Linked DNA regions of Homo sapiens: region 2 is linked to region 1. The links are contacts of gene promoters, found by promoter capture Hi-C in human tissues and cell types (Jung and others, 2019). All regions are on one chromosome and are shown on one strand. Each heading gives the region's core, a stretch centred on a gene start or on the middle of the fragment in contact. The rest is flanking DNA. Distances are from core to core; before and after follow the strand shown. Region 1 holds the start of SLC37A4 (solute carrier family 37 member 4). Region 2 has its middle 39 kb from the start of CXCR5.

Region 1 (4,849 bases), core at 2,350-4,849:
CACACCCGGCTAATTTTTGTATTTTTAGTAGAGACAGGGTTTCACCATGTTGGTCAGGCTGGTCTCGAACTCCTGACCTCATGATCCGCGCGCCTCAGCCTCGCAAAGTGCTGGGATTACGGGAGTAAGCCACCATGCCCGGCCTATCTTCTCATTTCTTAACATTCTTTGGAAATACAGTGAGCAAACTAGCATTTGAGTCCCTACTATCCTGATCATAAAGTGCTTTAAAATGTTTTTCCATTTAATTCCCACTGACTGGGTGCGATGGATCATGCTTGTAATCGCCGCACTTTGGGAGCCTGAGGCAGGTGGATAACCTAAACTCAGGAGTTTGAGACTAGCCTGGCCAACATGGCGAAACCCCCTCTGTACGCCGGGTGCGGTGGCTCACGCTTGTAATCTAGCACTTTGGGAGGCCGAGGCGGGTGGATCACGAGGTCAGGATCGAGACCATCCTGGCTAACACAGTGAAACCCCGTCTCTACTAAAAATACAAAAAATTAGCTGACCGTGGTGGCGGGTGTCTGTAGTCCCAGCTACTCGGGAGGCTGAGGCAGGAGAATGGCATGAACCTGGGAGGCGGAGCTTGCAGTGAGCCCAGATGGTGCCACTGCACTCCAGCCTGGGCGAGAGAGCGAGACTCTGTCTCAAAAAAAAAAAAAAAAAAAAGAAAGAAAAAGAAAAAAAGAAAGAAAGAAACCCTGTCTGTACTAAAAATACAAAAATTAGCCAGGCGTGTTTGCGGGCACCTATAATACCAACTACTCAGGAAGCTGAGGCAGAAGAATCGCTTGAACCCAGGTGGCCTGGTCCTGTAGTCTTAGCTACTTGGGAGGATCGCTCAATGCTCAGGAATTTGAGGTTAGAGTGAGCTAAGATACCATTGCACTCCAGCCTGGGCAACAGAGCAAGCCTGTCTCAAAAACAAACAAACAAACAAACAAACAAACAAAAAAAACAGACCGGGCGCAGTGGCTCACGCCTGTAATCCTAGCACTTTGGGAGACCGAGGTGGGCGGATTACCTGAGGTCAGGAGTTCGAGACCAGCCTGGCCAATAGGGTGAAACCCTGTCTCTACTAAAAATACAAAAATTAGCTGGGCGTGGTGGCACATGCTTGTAATCCCAGCTACTCAGGAGGCTCAGGCAGGAGAATGGCTTGAGCCCAGGAGGCAGAGGTTGCAGTGAGCCGAGATCCTGCCACTGCACTTCAGCCTGGCCGACAGAGCAAGACTCTGTCTCAAAAACAAACAAACAAACAAATAAACACCATCGACCAGGCACAGTGGCTCATGCCTGTAATTCCAGGATATTGGAAGACCAAGGCAGGTGGATCCCTTGAGCTCAGGATTTCGAGGCCAGCCTGGCCAATATGGTGAAACTCTTGTCTCTACAAAAAATAGAAAAATTAACCGGGTTGGCTGGGTGCAGTTGTTCATGCCTGTAATCCCAGCACTTTGGGAGGCCAAGGGGGGCAGATCACCTGAAGTCAGGAGTTTGAGACCAGCCTGACCAACATGGAGAAACCCTACCCCTACTAAAATTACAAAATTAGCTGGGCATGGTGGGGCATGCCTGTAATCCCAGCTACTCGGGAGGCTGAGGCAGGAGAATCGCTTGAACCCCAGAGAAGGAGGTTGCAGTGAGCTGAGATCACTCCACTTCCAAAACAAAACGATAGGGCTGTTAATTTAGGTGGTGGTTACACGGGTATTAACATGTGTAAAAAATCACTGAGTTGTACATGTAAGATTCCTGCACTTTTTGTATTTTATTATGTGTATGTTAAATCTTAAAAATAAAAGCGGAGAAAAACCTGATGGCTTCCTACTCCTCTATTAGGTAAAGTAAGAATCTGCTCTGGTTTGGTTTCGGAGGAACTGTTTCCTGGTCCTTGGATCTACCTGGCTGAAAGCACAGTGCCTGGTACAAACTAGGCTCCTCCCCGATTTTGAATTAACGAAGTTCAGTGACATCGTCATCCTATTTTTTTTTTTTTTTTTTTGAGACAGGCTCTCGCTCTGTCACCCAGGCTGGAGTGCAGTGGCACGATCTCGGCTCACTGCAACCTCTGCTTCCCAGGTCCAAGAAATTCTCCTGCCTCAGCCTCCCCAGTAACTGGGATTACAGGCGTGTGCCACCAAGCCTGGCTAATTTTGGTATTTTTAGTAGAGACAGGGTTTCACCATGTTGGCCAGGCTGGTCTCGAACTCCTGACTTCAAGTGATCTGCCCGCCTTGGCCTCCCAATGTGCTGGGATTACAAGCATGAGCCATCGCGTCCGGCCTGTCATCCTATTTTATCTCATCTCCTCCTCCTCCCTTCCCTGACCATCTTCTCTGGAGTAAAAGATCTTTGCTCTCAATTTTGGAACACTTACAATTCCTTCAGCCACTCTTGTTAGGAAGATATAAGGGAAGAGAGCGAGAGACAGGAGGCAACTCAACGGCCAAACAGGTTTATTCACAGGAATAAGCCTGCAAGGAGTTCCAGTCAGGAGTCTGGCTGAGACCCTGATCGCTTACAAGCTGAGGCTTTTATAATATCGTTTCTATTGGGGAGAGGTCGGGAAGTGCTGGCTGATTGGGACTGTTGGGGACTTTGTTAGGCTATGTTACCTTCTGTTGAAGCTATGGGCAGGGTTAACATTTGCTCTGTTTCTGAGAACACAGTCATCATTGTTGTAAAATAGCATCACTACTGTTACTCCTCACAACTCTTAACTGGGATCAGTGAAAACCATTGTTGTTGAGAACTCTTATAGAATTTCTGAGCTCTTATCTAAATCATCTGTTGAGTCTTCACAATGATCTACCAGGCTGGTAGGAAACGGGAGCTCATAGAGATTAACCAAGGTCATACAGTTAGAATGCTGTGGGTCTAGGACTAGAATTTGATATTTACTCCAGGCCCCGTCTCTGTCCCCAACAATCTAACCACAAGTTAAAATTCCAAATTGTGGGCTGGGCGCGGTGGCTCACGCCTGTAATCCCAGCACTTTGGGAGGCCGAGGTGAGCGGATCACGAGGTCAGGAGATCGAGACCATCCTGGCAAACACGGTGAAACCCCGTCTCTACTAAAAATACAAAAAATTACCCGGGCGTGGTGGTGGGCGCCCGTAGTCCCAGCTACTCGGGAGGCTGAGGCAGGAGAATGGTGTGAACCCGGGAGGAGGAGCTTGCAGTGAGCCGAAATCGCGCCACTGCACTCCAGCCTGGGCGACTGAGCGAGACTGTTTCAAAAAAAAAAAAAAAGAAAAAAAGAAAATACTGTGTGTTCCTACAACACCTTTCCCAGACTGTGAGCAACTTGGGAACAATGATTATCACCTTAGTGTTCGGTGTGTTTTGTAGAGGAGGGCACTCACTAAAAACTGGTTTGTTGAATGCAACCACTTAAGAATTGGACATGCCGTGCCCAGCCCCTAAGGGGCGCTATGCTCGTTCGTCCAAGGAGCAGCGTGACCAGCGGGAGGGAGTAAGTCGACGTCCCCGGCATGTGGGGCGGGGAACTCCACTGGCCGGCAAGCGAAGCAGCAGGCGAAGACCACGCCCCCGCCGGCCGCGCTTGCGCAGCCTTCGCTAGCCCCGCCCCGTCCTATTCGGGCTCCCGCCTCTGTTCAGGTAGGAGGCGGTATGCGGGGGAGGGGAGTCACCTGAGGGCGGGGATCTCAGGTCTTGGGGAGCCATTGTTGGCGAACCCCAACTTCCGATACGACCCGGAGCTGTTCCTGCAGTTCCAGAGACAATTCATGGGTCTTGGGGCCACCGAGGCGCTGTCCCTGACCACCAGCACGAGACCCCTTTCTATCGCGCCAGTCCTGTGGTCTCCGCACCTCTCCAGCTCCTGCACCCCCGGCCCCCGTGGTTCCCAGCCGCACAGTAGCGTGTCCTGGGTAGCGTGAGGACCCACGGGGCTGGGCAGGTGCCACGAGCCCGCCGCCTCTTCGCCGCCCGCCGCCTCTCCTCCTCTCCCGCCCGCCGCCTGGCCCTCCCCTACCAGGCTGAGCCTCTGGGTGCCAGAAGCGCGGGGCCTCCGGGAGAATACGTGCGGTCGCCCGCTCCGCGTGCGCCTACGCCTTCTGCTCCAGTTGCTTTCCCAATTGAGCGGAAAAGCCGGGGCATGTTGCCGGGGCCCTGGGCGGGACGGTTGTGCCCTGCAGCCCGAAGCCCGCCGGGGCACCTTCCCGCCCACGAGCTGCCCAGTCCCTCTGCTTGCGGCCCCTGCCAACGTCCCACAGGTTGGAAACCAGACCCTGCAGCCCCCAGCTAGCCCGAAGGAAGCCCAGACTGACGTCGCAGGGTAATGGGGACCCAGAGGTAGCTCTGTGGGGCCCCATCAGGACCTCAGCCCTTAGCGGGGCTTTCTGTGTGACACCGTGGGACCTGAACTGGGGAGGTCCCCCTTGCACAGAATTACAAGGGGCAACTGTAGGAAACAATTAAATCTATTATGTGCTAAGTATTGAGAGTTCCACGGATTGAGGCCCTCTCTAGAAGGCTTAGAAGTGGGGTAGCCGGGGTATGTGTCTGACTTTGTGTTTTGGTGCGGTGGTGGTGAGTGGGTGTAGAAACTAATAGTGCCAAGTGCAGTGCCTGTCAACTAGTAAGTTAATAAACCTTCCGTGAATGAATGAGAAGGTTCTGTGACTGAGGGAGCAGGGCTAGAGAGGGCATCTCTGCTCATCCCACCCCTGCCTCCCCTGGGCTCAGGCAGACAAAAGTAATTAGGTTGAACCTTTAATCAAAGCTGGTTTCACAGGCAAGCAGACATGATAGAGGAGGTAAAGGCAGAAATCCTGGGGACACAGGGTGCTGGCCTGGCTCACAGGCATGCCTCCTTCCG
Region 2 (4,402 bases), core at 1,378-3,877, 190 kb after region 1:
GTGTGCGCCACAATATATTCTTATAGAGATGAGGGTGTCACTATGTTGCTGGTATTAAACTCCTGGCCTCAAGTGTTCCTCCTGCTTTGGCCTCCCAAAGTGCTGGGATTCCAGGTGTGTGCCTGGCTGCTTTGCATTCTTTAATGAGATGGCCAGTCTCATAAAAGCTATGGCCACAAGAGACAGGAGAGGCTCAGGAAAACAGAGTTTATTGTACTCTTGGATCCTAGGGACAGGAAGCATGCAGGGCCCCAAGGAAAAGACACAGGGTGGTCAAAGGGCAGAAGACAGAAGTGTGGGGAAGGTTTAGGCTACTGCTCTTTGGGGTGGGGGGTTTTGAAGGAAAGGCAAGGTAGGGTGGGGTTGAACCTTTAGTATTGACTAGTTTGAATAATTTCAGTGGCTTTGGGGTATAGGTTGGTCCCTAATTGACTGGGACCTGGCCCTGGGCGGAGGAATTTTGCCTCTGGGGGTGTGTAGGACAGATAGAGGGGGTGTGGCTCTGGGGCTGGTTCATTTGCATATCAAAGACATGCTTCTGGCTGAGCTCTTTGCTATCTCTAAGAACTGGCTAGCCCAGGGAGGGGCAGTCTCTCCCCAGCCAGAAAGGTTTATTTTATTTTATTTTGTTTTCTCGTAGAGATGGGATCTTGCTATGTTGCTCAGGCTGGTCTCGAACTCCTGGCCTCAAGCAATCCTCTTGCTTCAGCCTCCCAAAGTGTTGGGATCACAAGTGTGAGCCACTGCACCTGGCTGATAAAGGCTTTTTAGGGTTTGCATTCTTATTAATAAATTCATCCAGGCCAGGCGTGGTGGCTCACCCTGTAATCCCAGCACTTTGGGAGGCCAAGGCGAGTGGATCACCTGAGGTCAGGAGTTTGAGAGCAGCCTGGCCAACATGGTGAAACCCCATCTCTATTAAAAATACAAAATTTAGCCGGGCATGGTGGCAGGCGCCTGTAATCCCATCTACTCAGGAGGCTGAGGCAGGAAAATCACTTGAACCCAGGAAGCAGAGGTTACAGTGAGCCAAGATTGTGCCACTGCACTCCAGCCTGGGCAACAGAGAGAAACTCTCTCTCAAAAAATAATAAATAAATACATAAATAAATTTATCCAAATCCAAAATTATATTTCTTCCATCCTGATCCCACTCTTTCAAGATCTATTCCCCTACCTATTCCCTGAGTTTCAGTCAGTATAAATCAGCATTTGAGGATCTTGGTAAAATATAAAAGGAATTGTTTGTACTATTCTTATAACTTTGCTGTAAATATGAAACTATGTCAAAAAAAAAACATGAAGCAATGTATACATTGACAAACTCTCAATATTCTTTTGGTTTGTATGGTATTTCCTCATGAGTCACCCTGGGGCCTGCTATGACTTGAATCTCTGAGCTTACAGATCTAAAAGAGGTGGAAGGGTTAGGTTCCTAGGAGGATCACAGTCCCCTGAAAGGCCACTAGCTCTGGGGAGGTCATCCCAGGTTCTTTAGGTAAGGGAAGATTAACTGCAGATAGAGAAGAAGGTCACTTTTTTTTGGCTAAGGAGGGTTAGCTGAATTTAGGGTTTAAGGCAGGGGTGTCCAATCTTTTGGCTTCCCTGGGGCACATTGAAAGAATTGTCTTGGGCCACACTTAAAATACACTAACAATAGCTGATGAGCTAAAAAAAAAAAAAGAAAAAGAAAAAGAAAGAAAAAGATCACAAAAAACCTCATAATGTTTTTTATTGTTGTTGTTGTGGTTTTTGTTTTTTGTTTTTGTTTTTTCTTTTGAGGCACAGTTTTACTCTTGTTGCCCAGGCTGGAATGCAGTGGTGCTGTCTTGGCTCACTGCAACCTCAGCCTCCCGGGTTCAAGCGATTCTCCTGCCTCAGCCTCCCAAGTAGCTGGGATCACAGGCGACCGCCACCACGCCTGGCTAATTTTTGTATTTTTAGTGGAGAGAGGGTTTCACCATGTTGGCCAGGCTAGTCTCGAACTCCTGACCTTAGGTGATCCACCCGCCTCGGCCTCCCAAAGTGCTGTGATTACAGGTGTGACCCACTGCGCCTGGCCAAAGCTCATAATGAAAGTTTATGGCCGAGTGTGGTGGCTCAAGCCTATAATCCCAGGACTTTGGGAGGTTGAGGCGGGTGATCACCTGAGGTCAGGAGTTCGAGATCAGCCTGGCCAACATGGTGAAACCCCATATCTACTAAAAATACAAAAAAAATAGCTGGGTGTGGTGGTGCGTGCCTGTAATCCCATCTACTCAGGAGGCTGAGGCAGGAAAATCACTTGCACCTAAGAAGCAGAGGTTGCAGTGAGCCAAGATCGTGCCACTGCACTCCAGCCTGGGTGACAGAGGGAGACTCTGTCCAAAAAAAAAAAAAAAAAAAAGAAAGTTTATGAATTTGTGTTGGGCACATTCAAAGCCATCCTGGGCCACATGCAGCCTGCAGGGCCACAGGTTGGTCAAGCTTGGTTTAAGGTCTTTGACCTCATAGGAATCCATCCGTATGTCTGTATCCTAAGACTCAGGGTCTTACTCCTTTCCAATCAATGTCTTATTTTGAACATAAGACACCCTGGTAGGTTATGAATTCACTTTGCGTTGAAATTCAGTCTGCTGCAAGTGGACACTTAGTGTTTGGTGATCAGAAATCTTGACCTTGAGGCTATCAGAGATGAGAGTTTTTTTTAAAGGCAGTCTTCAAGTTTTTTGGTCCATTTTCCAGAACTTGAGATGGAAATTTAAAGCCTTTAGCTCATCATTTTCTTTCTCCAAACTTTCCCCATATGTAGAAGCAACCAACATTCCTCATTACATTCCTATTTCTACTAAAATGTTCTACAGCAGCAAATATTTGGCTACCCAAAGCTTTGCCGTCTATAAGCATGTATCACAAGTGATTACAGGTAGAGTTTAAGAATTTAAGTTTACTGCTGGCAACAATCATGAATGCACTTAAGTTTAATCAGGTCAGAGAACCAGTTTCCAATTCCTATCCTTAATGATCTGTCCCCTGAAACCACGGCCAGTACCAGTAAGTGTATCAGTCAGGGAGGTAGAACCTTCATGAATGATGAGATAAGGAATTTATTATGGGAACTATGCTTTACACAATTGTAGAAGAAGCTGGGGAAAGGAAAGACCAAGAGGTTAGTCAGAGAATCAAAAGAGGAGTCACCAATGTGGGGAGGGAAGTGCATCTGGCCACTGACATGGGGCTGTGATGAGAAGGCTCCTGGAGAGCCATCTGGGCAGCCGCCACCTCTGTGGATCCATCACCAAGTGTCTGGTGGTCACTGGTGGTCAACAGGGTCAGGAATTGGAAAGCATTTCTGGACACTGATCAGAGCAAAGCAAGGACAAGCTAGAGCTCACTAACACTTCTGTCACCACATCTAACCACAATGACATTTAGAGAATAATACTTGTGGCTAGGTGTGGTGGCCCACGCCTGTAATCCCAGCACTTTGGGAGGCTGAGGCGGGTGGATCACGAGGTCAGAAGTTTGAGACCAGCCTGGCCAATTTGGTGAAACCTCATTTTTACTTAAAAAACAAAAATTAGCTGGGTGTTTTGGGGCATGCCTGTTGTCCCAGCTAATCGGGGGGGTTCATTTTTGCCTTTTTTTTTTTTTGAGACAGAGTCTCGCTGTGTCTCCCATGCTGGAGTGCAGTGGCATAGTCTTGGCTCACTGCAACCTCCACCTCCCAGGTTCAAGCGATTCTCCTGCCTCAGCCTCCCGAGTATCTGGGATTACAGGCGCCTGCCACCACACCTGGCTAATTTTTTGTATTTTTAGTAGAGATGGAGTTTCACCGTGTTGGCCAGGCTGGTCTCGAACTCCTGACCTGGTGATCCACTGCCTCAGCCTCCCAAAGTGCTGGGATTATAGGCCTGAGTCACCATGCTGGGATTACAGGCGTGAGCCACCATGCCCAGCCCTTAATGTTATTTTTATGTTTGATAACGGCATTGTGGTTATGTAAGATAATGTCATTCTTAGGAGTTGGGGTTTAAATATTTAGGGGTGAAACTTCAAATGGCTTTGCATTTGTTTATTTGTATTACATATCTAGTGAATACAACAAAATGTTCAATCGTTGAATCTAGGTGGTGGATCTGCAGATGTTTCAACCTTTCAGTTATGTTTGACATTTTTTAATAATAAAGTAACAGGGAAAATAAAAGACTCCTCTCGATTCTTACCTTCTCTGGAAGGCTTTCCTACCCACCTCCTGTTACTGCTTTAAAGTCTGTGCTGTCCATCCTTTTTCTTTCCAAGGTATAGCTCTGTGGCATATATCATACTGTACTTTAATTTCTTGTTTTCTGGTCTCTCTGTAAACTTTGAAGTCCTTAAAGGGCAACATGCTCTCTTTCATCTGTAACTGTCCAGCATTTAT

What was found. The method cuts DNA at HindIII sites, captures the fragments that hold promoters and counts their contacts. A contact is called where the count stands out against the background at its distance.
Region 2: a fragment that was not itself captured here is called in contact with the fragment with the promoter of SLC37A4 in region 1 in 1 of the 25 tissues and cell types used here (pancreas).

The regions. Positions count from the first base shown.
Region 1 is chr11:119,029,627-119,034,475 of GRCh38, reverse strand. It overlaps SLC37A4 (solute carrier family 37 member 4), which reads left to right and starts at 3,599. Exons shown (of 10, transcript NM_001467.6): 1 at 3,599-3,627. RefSeq lists a silencer at 3,985-4,144. The HindIII fragment of the contact is 21,386 bases long and covers 1-4,849 here.
Region 2 is chr11:118,842,566-118,846,967 of GRCh38, reverse strand. No RefSeq gene overlaps it. Among named protein-coding and RNA genes, the nearest start is that of CXCR5, 39 kb to the left of the region's middle. The HindIII fragment of the contact is 5,445 bases long and covers 1-4,402 here.